Linked DNA regions of Homo sapiens: regions 1, 2, 4 and 5 are each linked to region 3. Evidence: promoter capture Hi-C in 16 types of primary human blood cells and fetal thymus (Javierre and others, 2016). All regions are on one chromosome and are shown on one strand. Each heading gives the region's core, a stretch centred on a gene start or on the middle of the fragment in contact. The rest is flanking DNA. Distances are from core to core; before and after follow the strand shown.

The links. Contacts are between HindIII fragments. The CHiCAGO score rates a contact against its expected background, and 5 or more counts as called.
Region 1: a contact is called between the fragment with the promoter of CACNB1 here and the fragment with the promoter of PPP1R1B in region 3, in 4 of 17 cell types (naive CD8 T cells, total B cells, neutrophils and 1 more). The highest score is 7.2, in naive CD8 T cells.
Region 2: a contact is called between the fragment with the promoter of MED24 here and the fragment with the promoter of PPP1R1B in region 3, in 11 of 17 cell types (fetal thymus, total CD4 T cells, naive CD8 T cells and 8 more). The highest score is 18.7, in fetal thymus.
Region 4: a contact is called between the fragment with the promoter of ORMDL3 here and the fragment with the promoter of PPP1R1B in region 3, in 14 of 17 cell types (activated CD4 T cells, naive CD8 T cells, total CD4 T cells and 11 more). The highest score is 15.6, in activated CD4 T cells.
Region 5: a contact is called between the fragment with the promoter of CSF3 here and the fragment with the promoter of PPP1R1B in region 3, in 5 of 17 cell types (naive CD8 T cells, fetal thymus, total B cells and 2 more). The highest score is 8.8, in naive CD8 T cells.

The regions. Positions count from the first base shown.
Region 1 is chr17:39,196,308-39,199,007 of GRCh38, reverse strand. CACNB1 (calcium voltage-gated channel auxiliary subunit beta 1) reads left to right here and starts at 1,339. Exons shown (of 14, transcript NM_000723.5): 1 at 1,339-1,596. The coding sequence starts at 1,513. RefSeq lists silencers at 1,042-1,171, 1,182-1,581, 2,012-2,141. The HindIII fragment of the contact is 8,246 bases long and covers 1-2,700 here.
Region 2 is chr17:40,053,128-40,055,827 of GRCh38, reverse strand. MED24 (mediator complex subunit 24) reads left to right here and starts at 1,420. Exons shown (of 26, transcript NM_014815.4): 1 at 1,420-1,467; 2 at 2,193-2,359; 3 at 2,448-2,530. The coding sequence starts at 2,230. RefSeq lists an enhancer at 1,161-1,220. The HindIII fragment of the contact is 3,100 bases long and covers 1-2,537 here.
Region 3 is chr17:39,625,594-39,628,293 of GRCh38, reverse strand. PPP1R1B (protein phosphatase 1 regulatory inhibitor subunit 1B) reads right to left here and starts at 1,342. Exons shown (of 7, transcript NM_032192.4): 1 at 821-1,342. The coding sequence starts at 901. The HindIII fragment of the contact is 16,288 bases long and covers 1-2,700 here.
Region 4 is chr17:39,926,351-39,929,050 of GRCh38, reverse strand. It overlaps ORMDL3 (ORMDL sphingolipid biosynthesis regulator 3), which reads left to right and starts at 1,450. Exons shown (of 4, transcript NM_139280.4): 1 at 1,450-1,567. It overlaps LRRC3C (leucine rich repeat containing 3C), which reads right to left and starts at 1,319. Exons shown (of 4, transcript NM_001195545.2): 1 at 1,237-1,319. It overlaps LOC124903999 (a long non-coding RNA gene), which reads right to left and starts at 2,331. Exons shown (of 2, transcript XR_007065750.1): 1 at 2,289-2,331; 2 at 2,049-2,123. RefSeq lists enhancers at 974-1,585, 1,586-2,196. The HindIII fragment of the contact is 24,326 bases long and covers 1-2,700 here.
Region 5 is chr17:40,014,148-40,016,847 of GRCh38, reverse strand. It overlaps CSF3 (colony stimulating factor 3), which reads right to left and starts at 1,408. Exons shown (of 5, transcript NM_172219.3): 1 at 1,334-1,408; 2 at 1,003-1,157; 3 at 508-615; 4 at 217-363; 5 at 1-53. The coding sequence starts at 1,373. PSMD3-AS1 (PSMD3 antisense RNA 1) reads left to right here and starts at 2,207. Exons shown (of 3, transcript NR_198981.1): 1 at 2,207-2,294; 2 at 2,489-2,610. RefSeq lists an enhancer at 999-1,498. The HindIII fragment of the contact is 16,036 bases long and covers 1-2,700 here.

The sequences.
Region 1 (2,700 bases), core at 90-2,589, 430 kb after region 3:
AAACCCTGCTCAGGGTTGGAACTCTCCTGGAACGTTTCTAATGGGCTTCATCTTCACTCACTGCTCCGCCTTCCCCAAGGTGTTGTGATCAGAGGAATGACAGACTGACCATTCACTTGCTATTAGAGTTGGGTGAGGAGGAGGAGTCCCATAGTCTCCTGTCCTGCGGAACACAGCAAGGTGGTGGCCTTATTGTAAGGTCACTTGACCTGGAGAGGGTCTTCTCCATCTCTCCTTTCTGTGGAGCAGGAGAAGGGGTGGAGTAGGAAGGGAATGGGTCCTCCTGTCATGAGTGACCCCTTCATTGAAACTTACAGCTTCTCCAAACACCCCAGCAATTCATTTAATTCTCCCTCATCCTCCCAATAATACCAGGTGACACAGACTCCACAGTACCAGCAACCCCATTTTATAGGAGAGGAGGAAACTGATGCTCAGAGAGGTGATTTGTCCGGGGCTATACAACCAGAAACAGCCTGAGCCAAATTGGCGCCAGAGTCTATTGCCCAGAATCTCCTATTCCTCTTCTCTCCACCAGTCATGGTGGGTGGCATCCAGATCTTGGATGTTTCTCCCTAAATCAGGGGTAAAGGTGGCGCAATTCTAGGTCAAAGGTCATGAGATCTGATTTTACCAGCTTCTCCTCTCTCAGCTCCATATTTCTTCCTCTTTTCTCATCCAAGAGCAGGGACCTCACCCAGCCCCATTCCTGGCCTTTTGGAAGAACAGGGGTTGGGGGGGCGGTGTATCCTAGTGACTGATTAGGGCAGAACTCCTGGACCCCTGGGATTTATTTTGCTGTCTCTATTGGACACCCTCCCCATCTCAGCCTCAGCCTCCCACCGGCAGCCCCAGAGCCATGTTGGAGGGAGAGGCTTTTCTGTTTGGTTTGAGGCAGCCTGGGCCCCACACTGGGGAGAAAGGAGTTAAAGCCAGGTCCCAGGATCACCGGGACCGGGAAGTTCCGGTGGTCCAAACAGGAGTGGGTTGGGGGGACCCGCAGGAAGAGAGGTTTGGGACAAAAGGGGGGTGGTGCCAGCCATGCCAATCCCCATCAGCGCTCGGCATCCACTGGTAGACCGCCCCCCCACCCCTCCCCCAAGTTCCACGCCTAGTTTCTGCCTTCCCGCCCCAGCGGGCCGCCTGCACCCCACGGCCAGTCAGAGGCCCACCTGCGGCCACCTAGAGCCGAGAGGGGCTTGCCTCCCTGCTGCCGCACGCCCATTGTGTGCGCCGAGCCGGCGGAGGGGCTGCGAGGGGCGGGGCCGGGCGGGCGGAGGGAGGGAGCGAGGGAGGGGCGCGGGGAGATGCTGAGCCTACGGGGGAGGCGGCGGCGGCAGTGGAGAGAGCGGGAGGAGCGAGGGAAGGCAGGAAGGAGGCAGCCGAAGGCCGAGCTGGGTGGCTGGACCGGGTGCTGGCTGCGCCGCGCTGCTTTCGGCTCCCACGGCCTCTCCCATGCGCTGAGGGAGCCCGGCTGGGCCGGGCCGGCGGCGGGAGGGGAGGCTCCTCTCCATGGTCCAGAAGACCAGCATGTCCCGGGGCCCTTACCCACCCTCCCAGGAGATCCCCATGGAGGTCTTCGACCCCAGCCCGCAGGTGAGGCGTGGTGGCCCGGCCCAACGGGAGGGGGTCGCTCCCGCGGACCGTGTTAAGGTCGGCTCGAGAGGCGCGGGAGAGGAAGGGGTTATATGCCGGGCGCGGAGGAGAGAGGGATGCCTGCGCGCCCCCCATCCTTGCAGGTTGTGATTGATGGGCGCTGGGCCTGGGGCTGGGTGGCGATGCTGCGGAGCGGGGAGGGGGCGGGTGGGCTGCCTGTCACCCTCGCCTCCTTATCTCCCCCGCGTCAAGGTTCCTGCCGCTTGGGCACCAGCTTCAGTGGGCTGAGCGTGGGGGTGCTGGTGGAGGGGGATCTGGGCCTTGAGAAGGGGAGGTTGAAAGAGGCTAGAAAGCGAGCCAGGCAAGGGGGGCGACGCAGAGCACGCTCGGGGGCGCCAGGCGGGTGTGGGTGGGGCGGGGGTGGCACGAGGAGGTGGCCGAGGCGATGGTCAGAGGGCGGTGCCAAATGCCAACAGGCCTTCAAAGCCGCAGACACTGGTTCTCGAGGGTGGGGAAAGAGCCAACCCCGGTCGAGGTCCCCTCCCAGCCACCTGGGCTCCATCTCTATGTCGGACCTGCTCCCCTCCCCCCACACCCACGTTGACTTACCCCACCCCCACCCCCGCCCCAAAAACGCCTCCAAAGTTTGGAAAGTTGGATGGATGCCAACTCATAGGAGGGGGGGAAGCTGTTTTACCTGGGGGAGGGGTCTACTTCTCCATCCCCACCCGCACACTTTTCCTACACCCCTGGTTACTCCCAGGAAGTGGCATTCTTGGGCGCGGTGGGTTCTCATGGGGTGACCAGCAGGCTCTGGGATGGTCGCGCCAGGGGATTTCTTTGGGAGTGTCCTTCTCCAAGGATAGCATTAACTCTTCTGTTACTGTGGCCACCAGCTGTAACCACCATGATAATGTGACTGATGGGTATGTAGAGGGGTCAAGTCAGACCTAAAAATACCTTCCTCCACCCCAGGCCCCTTTGAGCCTGGGAGGCAGCTGACTGGGGCCTTCCTTTCAGCTGTCCCCTGTCCCTCTGAGTGCCACTCCCTTTGCCCAGCCTGGCAGTGGTGGGGGAGGGTGGTGTCTGGGATTCACTGGGTGA
Region 2 (2,700 bases), core at 171-2,670, 430 kb before region 3:
CTGGGAGGCAGAGGTTGCAGTGAGCTGAGACTGCGCCATTGCACTCCAGCCTGGGCAACAGAGCAAGCCTCCATCTCAAAAAAAAAAAAAAAAAGAATCTTTGTTGAGGAATACAGATTGAGCTTGAACTTGTGAACTAGGATATTGGGCCCTGGCTAAAGGCCTCCATGTTTATTTATTTATGTATTTTGGTAGAGCTGAGAGTCTCATTATGTTGCCCAGGCTGGATTTGAACTCCCGAGCTCAAGTGATCCTCCTTTCTCAGCCTCCCGAGTAATTTACTCTTATTCCTGGTTGTAAATGTTAGGGATGACCAGTCCATAGCATGGGGAGGGATGAGGGCTATGCATAAGAAGGCTCAGACATTGGAGCCTCCAGAGGTGGGTAACATTTGCTTTCGGGTTTCTCACTGGGGGAAGGAAAGGCTATGGCCAAAGCCCTGGGCATAATTTATATATGGATCTTTGGGATAAGCAAGATTTAAACAACAACAACAACAACAACAACAAGAAACTTAAAAAAACAAGTTTTTAATTTACAGGAAAAAAATGGAAGGTAATAGAGGGTCCCCACATATTCTGCACCCAATTTCTCTTTTTATTAACATCTTAGCATTAGTATTATGCATTTGTAACAACTAATGAACTAATATTGATACATTATTATTAATTAAAGTCCACCCTTTATTTAGATTTCCTTAGTTTTTACCCAGTATTCTTTTTCTCTTCCATGATCGCATTCAGAAAACCACATTACATTTAGTCATCAGGTCTCCTTAGCCCTCTTAGTTGTGACAGTTTCTCAGAATTCCTTTGATTTTGATCACCTTCACCTTAGTTTCCTCTTTACTTTCCCTTGTATCCAAGCTGTATGGAGGGCCTGGAGATTCTGATAGGACTGTAAGATTCGGGGACGGTGATATGTGTGCAACTAAGGCACCTCGGTGTCGCTTTTAGAATATAGTTGTGGAAATGAGAATAGCTCTGGTAGCTCCAGGGGCTTAGGAGAACAGAAAGAGCCCAGGAAAGGAGAAAGACCTTATTGCTGAACGCCACACCCTTGCCCCCACGCCACACCCTTGCCGCACCTACTAACTAGGGGCTAACGAATGAAAGGGTGTCGGAATATGATGGAGAAGCCCGGTCGACAGTGACGTCGTGGGCGACGCCGGGTTGTGAGCGGCCTTTCGAGCTCCCTCGAGTCCCTGAGTCTCTGTAGTGCCTCAGCTCCTGGATGTCCTCCCTTAAAGGAGAAGAACAATGCGGGCCGACTAGACGAGTCCCTTAGTTTCCTCGCCGGCGCAGACAAATACGGTTTCAGTCCAAGGAACTACCATTCCCAGAAGACAGCGGGGCGTTCCTTGCTGCATTTCTATTGGTTGGCGTTTGTTACTCCCAGCCAATAGAAAGTGAGCTTCTTGACAAGTGCCAAAATGGCGATGCCTACCACCTAGAACTGGATTGTGCGGTAGGCTTAAATTTGGGGAGGTGGTGGATGAAAAGGAAATTGGGAGGTATAGTTACAGGGCTGGAGAAGGTGGAGGAAATGAGGGAGCAAATCTGGACTTGGAATGGTGGTGGCCAAGGGACGCTTTTAGAGCTAAGGGCGTAATTAGGCAACCAGGACTGCCTTAACTCCTTGATGCCCTGTTTAATCTATTAGTCCCTTTGATACTTCTTTATTCATTTATTTGAGAGACGGAGTTTTGCTCTTGTTGCCCAGGCTGGAGTGCAATGGTGCGATCTCGGCTCACCCCAACAACCTCCGCCTCCCGGGTTCAAGCGATTCTACTGCCTCAGCCTCCCGAGTAGCTGGGATTACAGGCATGCACCACCAAGCCCGGCTAATTTTGTATTTTTAGTGGAGACGAGGTTTCTCCATGTTGGTCAGGCTAGTCTCGAACTCCTGACCTCCGGTGATTCGCCCGCCTCTGCCTCCCGAAGTGCTGGGATTACAGGTGCGAGCCACTGCGCTCGGCCGATACTTTCTTAGTGCCCCAGTTTAAGGAAGGGCGGTTCAGGAGGAGAGAGTCTGACAGGATCTTACTTTATCCCTTTAGCTCTTTTTCTTTCAAATTCCTCTGTCTCGCTTAAATCTTCCCGCATCTTCTCCTTTCTATTTAATTCTGCCTTCCCCGGTTCTCCTTAGAACCTCATGTCCTTTTCTTTAGCTCCATTTCTTTCACCTCAAAGCTGGCCGCCACCGCTGCCACCTGCTCAGAGTGAAATAATGAAGGTGGTCAACCTGAAGCAAGCCATTTTGCAAGCCTGGAAGGAGCGCTGGAGTGACTACCAATGGGCAATCAACATGAAGAAATTCTTTCCTAAAGGAGCCACCTGGGATATTCTCAACCTGGCAGGTCTCAAGTGAACTGGGAAAGAAAGATGGGAGGGATAAACCCAGAGAAGTTGTAATCACTCAGTTGTGTTTTGCTATTCCTCTTGCAGATGCGTTACTAGAGCAGGCCATGATTGGACCATCCCCCAATCCTCTCATCTTGTCCTACCTGAAGTATGCCATTAGTTCCCAGGTAAGCTTCCCGCAAACCCCCACCAAGAAGTGAGAGTTCTGGGGGTAAAAAACTTGGAGTGCATTTGGGCCCCGGTGGTTCATGGCTGTAATCCCAGCATTGTGGGAGGCTGAGGCAGGCGGATTGCTTGAGCCCAGGAGTTCAAGACCAGCCTGCGTAACATGGCAAAA
Region 3 (2,700 bases), core at 93-2,592:
CTTAGGCCCAGGACTGTACCCCCTGCCCTCTATCTCCCCCCATAATGACTTGGCCCCCTCATCACTGCTCAGTGGGGAGCCAGCTGCATCTCAGCTCAGCAACAAGTGACCCCTGCTCCACTAGGGATGGGAAGTGGAGCTCTCTGTCACAGCACCCGCCAGCCTTTGGAAGCCCCTCAACCCCCAAGAAGGCCCTCAGGAGGACTCAGTAGTCTGTGGGAAGAGGTCTGGCTTTGTGATGACTCCCCACCTCTCCCTCCTTGGGGTTGGGGCTCTGGGGCCTGACAGCAGGAGGCCAGAGCCAGGTTCTGGAGACCCCAGCCCAGGCACACACGCGGGATTAGAGAGGGGCAGGGTAGTGGATTCACCCGGTGGCAGCCTCATACTCCTGCCCTGGGTGACAAGGTCAGTGTCCACCGCTGCTCACATCTGACCAGCTCTGGGACAGAGCCAGGCGGAGCGGTCCCGGTGGTAGCCTAGGAGACTGACTACCCTTTGGGGACTGTGCTGGGACCAAAGGACGCCCCCACCCCACTCCTGGGCGGTCTGGAATCGGCCTGTCCCCCCACCCCCGCACCCCCAGCCTCACTGCCAGGAACTCTCTTGCCCCGGGATCAGGACCAAAGCCGCGGGGAAAAGTTGCACGAGTCTCCAGCTAACTTCACACGCGGCCCCGCGCCCCGTCCTGACCGAGGCAGAGCCCGGCTCTCCTTGCGCCCCCACCCCCAGGCCAGTCCGGCCGGGGCAGCGCCTTGGGAGGGCGAAGAAGCCCCGCGGGGTGTGTCGGGTACGCTGCCGGGGTGGGGCACGGGCCCCTTACCATCTCCACCTGGCGGGGGTCGAGCTGGCTAGGGGGCGCGGGCACCGAGAACTGGATCTTCTTGCGGTCCTTGGGGTCCATGGCGCGCGGGGTGGGCGGTGGGGCTGGGGTGCGCGACTCGGGGTCCCGGCGGCGGTCTGTGCTGGGCTCCCCCGCGCAGGCGGCGGGCTGTGCGGCGAGAGGAGGAGGAGGGCTGTTCGCGCACGGATAAAAATACCGTGCCCGCCGAGGGGAGGGCGCGGGAGCGGGAGGAGGGTCGGCGCCCGGGCTGGGCGCGCCCCCAGGCTCTCGGGACTCGGGGCTCGCCCCCCGCGCTCGCTGAGCCAGGTCTGTGCCTCGCTCCCTCGCGCTCCCCGGCCTGGGTGTCTCTGCGTCTCGGTGTCTCTCCCCTCCTGAGTGTCTCTGCGTCTCGGTGTCTCTCCCCTCCTGAGTGTCTCTGCGTGTCTCCTCTCTCTGCCTCTCCCGTCCTTCTCCACCTCCCTCCCTCAGCCTCTCCTCCTCTCCGCGTGTGTCTCTGCCTCTGCCGGGCTCACCCTCCGGTCCCAGCTTTGGGGTCCCCAGCCCGTCCCCTCCGCCTGGGACTGGCGCCCGGGTGCTCGGAGGGAGGGTTTAGGGGAAACTGGCCAATGAGCATGGAGAATCGTGTTCTCCTGGGGCTGGGAGGAGGGTGGGAGTTAGAGCCAAGGCCTGGGGAGCCAGCTGGGGGGCCCCCTGCGGTCTCCCCAGAACTTGAAGCTGCATTATTGATGGAGTCCAGCAGAGAGGATAAAGGGGGAGGGAGGGGGAGAGGGGCAGCGGGGAGGCAGGACTCTGGCTTTAACCCCTTCGTGGTCCTGGTACTGGGAGTTTCAGAGAGGCCTGCGAGGTCGTGGGGAGAGTACCAGCCTGTCACGCTGTGAATGGGGGTGTCCTGGAAAGGGAGCGAGTGTGACCGAGTTGTGTGTGGGAGGACACGTGTCAGTCATCGTGGCAGGGAGAGTGTGCAGGGGTGTGCCGGGGCCCTGTGGTGCCCATAGCCAGGGAGTGTGTTTTGGGGGGTCCGGTGTGGTGTGAGTGTGTCTGTGTAAGTGTGTCAGAGTGTCAAAGATGCAGGTGTGAGTGGCAGGGTGTGGGAGGACTGCGTGTGTGCGGGGGAGGGTGTGGGTGTGGGGGAGGATGTCAGAGGCTGTCAAGGTGATGGGCAGGCGTGTGCCAGCTTGCAGGGGGTGGGGGACTGTATCCACAGCTCCGCTGTGCAGTTGCTGGGGTATGAGGTTGTGGATGTGTGAGCGCTCCTGTGAGGGAGAAGGGGAATGTGCCCTGCCATGATGTACTGTAGATTCACGTGGCTCCTGTCTTTCCTCTCCGGATCTAATGGGGTGGGGAGGACAGGGCCGGCCCAGAGTTGGGGTGGGTTTGGGGGCTGCCTGTACACGTGCCATCACGTGCATGAATTTGGTGCATTCAGAAGCAGGGTTGGGGGAGACAGGTGTGAGCCTCTCTCTCTCCAGAGGTATTTGTGTGTGTCTCTGGAGCGGGAGCGGGAGGAGCTGGCCCTGTGGGTGGAATGTCCCTGTCTATTTGGTCTATTTGTCCGGGCCTTGGGTGCCTTTGCAGGAGCTGCTGTTTCCCTCCTTGGAGCTGTGCAGAGGGTCTGAATGCTTCTGTCTAGCACTGAGAGGGTGTGTGTAGACGTGTACATGCATGTTTTCCTGGGGCTCTGTTTGTGTTGGCGTCCTCTCTCCTGGTCACTCTCAGGCCTGAAACCCCCAATCCTCCTGCAGCTTTTCCACTCCCAGCCCCAGCATCTGGGTCCTGGGTGGAGTGAAAGGCCAGAGGAATCTTCTGGAATTGGGGTCAGGGCCCACTCTGGGGGTGAGGGAAAGGGTGGCAGGAGGTCC
Region 4 (2,700 bases), core at 201-2,700, 300 kb before region 3:
AGGCACCTCCACAAACCAGGAGAAACTTCCACAGGACATAGGCAGAGCTATTTCAGACTCAGATGATTATTTCGATCTTGGAATGAGCCCTTTTGGGGCCATTGGCCCTGGAAATATTGAAGAAGCTGCCTGTTCTGCTCTGGGTGGTTCAAATACCCACCTGCCTGGTGACCACTAAGTGCCTCTGGGGGTCCCACTCCAGCTGTGTGACAACTGTTTCCTGGCAGCCCCCTGGGGAAGGAAAGGTAGGTGTAGTCCGAGTAAAGTGCTCCGCAGTTTCCCTGGGCTAGCCTTTTCCTTCCTGTTCCCTCACTTTCAGTTCAGGGTGCCATGAACTGCCATTCAGAGTCAGGTTGGCATGCCATGACATCATCTGACCTTGCTATTCCAGCCCTGCCCTGCATAGAGTGGACTTAGAAAGAAGCTGGGTAAGGAGTTGAAACTACCCAGACAAGACCTCTTGGTGACATGGAGAATGGGAGTAACCGAGGAGACCTCAAGAGCCATTTAGTTCAACCTCCTACAGTAATATTAAGTAGATTCCTACAATGCAACAGGTGCTTTACATACATTCTTTTGGGTTCCCACAACCTTGGAGGTGGGGTTTCACAGGTGTGGAATTGGAGATTAAGACAAGTAATTTGCCCAGGGTCACACTGCCAATAAAGGAGGGCCTACCCCATGTCTACCAGGCAGTAAAGTCTGTGCCCTTGCCTTTAGACGATGCAGATGTGAAAACTGCAGACCAGAGCCTCTCATTCAAAGCCACACAAGCTGACCTGAGACAGAAACTCAGGCTCCTTACTACTGATGGAGGAATCTATGATACGTAGCCTCTTCTCACGTCAGGTGCGGGGCGGCCAAGGATGTGGCCCGGTCCGGGGCAGCCTGGGCCAAGCGTGACTGAGAAGGAGAAGGCAGGCTCCGTTCCGGGCCCTCCAGACCCTCATCCCAGCCAATGTTGTGAAAAGCGCTCTCCCAGGAGGGCCCAGCAGGGCAAAGGGCCGGGCTAGTCTGTTTCTGGAGGAGCCAATCTGGGGCCAGGGCGGAGGCAGCCAGGTGCAGTGGAAAAATCCTGCAGTTGGGGTCAGAATATTTGGGTTTCGATCCAGTCTAGGACCCAGCAAAGACCTACAGAAAGTTACTTACAAGTCCGAGTCTCCTCATCTGCAAAACTGGGGCACGGATAAAATACACTTGAAGGGCACAGAAGCAAAAGTTGGAATTGTTACGCACCAAAATTCTATCATCCGATCTGACCATCACGTCACGGTACAACTTCCAACCGTGCGTCCCCGAAGAGGCCGGGAACGGAGCCCAGGAAAAACTACAACTCCCAGGAGGCGTCGGGAGGGCCGGCCCGGAGCCAGCGGAAGAAACTACAACTCCCAGAAGGCGTCGGGCGTGCCGGCGCGGGGCGGTGACGTACGGGGACCGGCGCGGAGCGCTGATTCGGCCGGAGCTGCCAGCGGGGAGGCTGCAGCCGCGGGTTGTTACAGCTGCTGGAGCAGCAGCGGCCCCCGCTCCCGGGAACCGTTCCCGGGCCGTTGATCTTCGGCCCCACACGGTGAGCCCGGAAGGAACCAAGAGGCCCCAGGGCTACGGGAGGGGCGGGAGAGAAGGTGGGGGCTGCTGGGGAGGCGCCCCGGGCTGGAGAGACGGGGGCAGAGGGAGTGGGGGGTGGAGGGAGTGCATCAGCCGAGGGGGTGCATCGGCTGGGGAGGTGGCCAAGGAATAAAGTGCGAGCGGGAGGCCGGGGGTGGAACGTCGGGAGGAGCGCCTCGGCTAGGGGTGGGAGGCGGGGAGCGGCTCGGCTTCGGGGATAAACGTTTGGCTGCCTCCAGGGCTGGGTGAACGCGTGGAGATGGCTGTGGGGTCCCGGACCGGACCGGGTTCCGAGTGCGAAGACCCAGGCTGGGGAACAGAGCGGGACCCCTCCCCCCGGCCCCGCACCCGAGGTCTCACTCAGAAAACCCCAACAACAGTGAGGACTCCGCCTCTTCGCTCCTCCTCTCCTGTGCTTAGTGCGGGTTCGCCTGGGCACTCGCTTTCCGCTCCTACCGCCCTCCCCCAGTCGGGGTGGCTGGGCCAAAGTTGAGAGGTTATCAGCTGTGGTCCTGCAGCTTGGGGGGTGGGCGGAATGGACATGGCATTGTGACGTGCTGCCCCGGACTCCCCGTTGGGGTCCCCATCCAGGCCTGGATGTTTTGTGCTCCTCTTCCAGAAGACAGGAGGTTTGCTGTTGTGAGGGCTGCTCTTTCCTGGGGGAGGGAATGGGAAGGGCTCACCTGGTGGCTGCCCTGGTGGTGCTCAGCCTTGGCTTGAGTGTCTGGCATACTGGCTGGGCCCGGATATTTGTATGTGGAGCCAAGAGGGTGGGGCGGGAAGGAGGGGGAAAGAGCTACCAGCAAAAAAGTGGTTAACACAACAGAGTTGCTGCAGGCTCTGGTTTGAGGCAGGTTATGAAACCACATCAGGGCCCAGCACTAAGCAGCCACCTGCCAGCTATGGCAGCAGAAGTTTTCGGCTCAACTCCTGTAGACCTAGTCGACCTCTGCCAGCCTCTTCTCTCTGTTTCTCCCCATCTAGGGTAGGGGCCAGTTGGTTGTTTTACTAATGGAAGTGATATGTATCCATAGTCACACGAAAGTCTCAAGAGTGTTTCCTCATTGCCAGTCTTTTTGTTAGTTTATTGATCTC
Region 5 (2,700 bases), core at 159-2,658, 390 kb before region 3:
GGCATGGCACCCTGGGTGGGCTGCAGGGCAGGGGCCATTCCCAGTTCTTCCATCTGTGGGGGAAAGCTGTGATCAGTGGTTGGGCCCTTCTGAGTGGGCGTTATTACAAATGAGGAAATGCTGGGGGTGACAGCATGGACAGGGCCCATACACAGGCCTGGCTGTGGTGCCCAGAATGCCAGCACGACCTTGGCCACCCTGCCCAACAAGGCTCACCTGCTGCCAGATGGTGGTGGCAAAGTCGGCGACGTCCAGCTGCAGTGTGTCCAAGGTGGGACCCAACTCGGGGGAGATCCCTTCCAGGGCCTGCAGGAGCCCCTGGTAGAGGAAAAGGCCGCTATGGAGTTGGCTCAAGCAGCCTGCCTGTGAGACAGAGCGGAAGAGTTAGGGGGTGCTGCCTGAGATACGTCAGGCCCCCAGCTTGGAACCTGGAGACATGGGGGAGCCCATGGGTGTTCCTCCTCTCCTTCCCCCTCCTCATTAGCCTTATCCTTTCCTGACACTCACCAGCTGCAGGGCCTGGCTGGGGCAGCTGCTCAGGGGAGCCCAGGGGATGCCCAGAGAGTGTCCGAGCAGCACCAGCTCCTCGGGGTGGCACAGCTTGTAGGTGGCACACTGGGGATGGAAGGATGCTGAGTGAGACTCGCCATGGCCGGGTCGCCGCTCCTTCCCGGGTCCTCCCCGACTCTCTGGTCTTTCCCCTCCCTCCATGTCCTGCCAGGCTGTTCAGTTCCTCTCTGCCCTGCACCCCCACTCTCTGATCTCACAGGGGCCCTTGCCCTTTCTCCTGAATGTAATGCCTCCACTCCCATCCCAGCCAGCCCTCCCGAGCACTGTCCCCACCAAGGTCCTCCTCCCCAAGTCCCTTCCCAGCCTTCCCCAGCTCCACTGCTCCTAATATTCTCCCACGTCCCTTCCAGAGGATGTTGGCCCTGCAGTTCCATCCCCCTTAGCTCTCCCCACCGGGCTTCCCTCCACAGCCCTCTCACCCACCTCACTCACCAGCTTCTCCTGGAGCGCTGCGCCATCGCCCTGGATCTTCCTCACTTGCTCTAAGCACTTGAGCAGGAAGCTCTGGGGCAGGGAGCTGGCAGGGCCCAGGGGGGTGGCTTCCTGCACTGTCCAGAGTGCACTGTGCCACAGCAGCAGCTGCAGGGCTGGGGACAGAGCGGGCTCAGGAGACATGCTGTTCCCTACCACCTGAGGCCCTCTCGGGGACACTGGGTGCCTTTAATCCCCATTCCCAGAACGGGGATCCCCAGCCCCTCTGTCACACCAGCCTCCCTCCCATGCCAGGGCAGGCGGCTCTCCCATCCTGGGCCAAGACACTCACCCATCAGCTTCATGGGGCTCTGGGTGGCAGGTCCAGCCATGGGTCTGGGTGGGGCTGGGCTGCAGGCTCCGGGCTGTTTTGGGGCCCAGCTCTAGGGGGGCCTTTATACATAACCCCATGGAGGCCTGGGAGGAAATTACCTGGGGCCACGACTAAGGCTTAGTAATAACTTCCCAGGATTTATGCAAATTTGGTGTCCAAGACAATGCAGGGGGGTTGGAACAAAAAGCTGTTTGCGAAAGTTTTGTGAAATTGTGGAATCTCTGATCCTCCTTTGACGTCGCCTTGCCCCCCTCAAACTCCCTTCCTCCCGCTGCCCCACCCAGGCCTGAATGGCCCCAGAGTGTTTGAACAGAACAGCTGAACAAAGGCTGAGCCGCTGATAGACGCCTGGAAGCGGCAGCAGCCTGTGGGGAAGTGGCAGCTGAGTCGGGGTCTCCCTCTCTGCTCTGGCAGACTTGCGGGGGCAGTGTCCTTTGCCCCTCTCCTTTGGGATTCTCAAGCCTGTCCCCCAAGCCCCCAAATTCTAAGAGAGAAAAAAAGAAGCTGGTTGCTCCCATTCCTACCCCCAAACTCTCCGGAGGCTGCCTGTCTGGGAGACCTCCTGAGCCCCTACCTGAGATAAGGACATTGGGTCTTGGCTGCTGTGCCCACCCCACACTTGGATAGGCACCATCGAAAGTTCCAGGCTGTCCTGTCCCAAGTTGATTAGCTGGGAACTCCCCCAGAAACCCCCCCGCCCCCCATGACTCATTCGGCTAAAGCCCCTAGAATCCCGGTAGAGCCAGAGGAAACCGGATGTCTGTCCCGAATGAGGCAAGACCCTTCGAGGCGATTGGCTCACCTGACCTTCACCTCCTCGTGCACGACCCTGACAGTAGGGTCCCCAAGGGCTTTGGAACTGCGGGATTGGGACACGTGACTTCCCTGGTCATTCACCTTGAAGTGGACACGGGCTGGGGTGAGAGAGGGGAAACTGCCCCATCTTCTCATCTTAGAACCATGCAGCGTTAATGCTGGAAGGGACCTTGGAGTCGATTCCAACCCCGTGAACTGGGCCAGGGAAGGAAGTGCCTTGCCCAAGGTCATGGTAAGTGACAGAATTACAGCCTGGGCCTCTGGCTCAGACCTGAACGTTTTCTTTTTCTTTTCCAGATGGAGTCTTGCTCTGTCGCCCAGGCTGGAGTGCAGTGGCGCGATCTCGGCTCACTGCAAACTCTGCCTCTCGGGTTCACGCCATTCTCCTGCCTCAGCCTCCCGAGTAGCTGGAACTACAGGTGCCCGCCACCATGCCCGGCCAATTTTTTGTATTTTTAGTAGAGACGGGGTTTCACCGTGTTAGCCAGGATGGTCACGATCTCCTGACC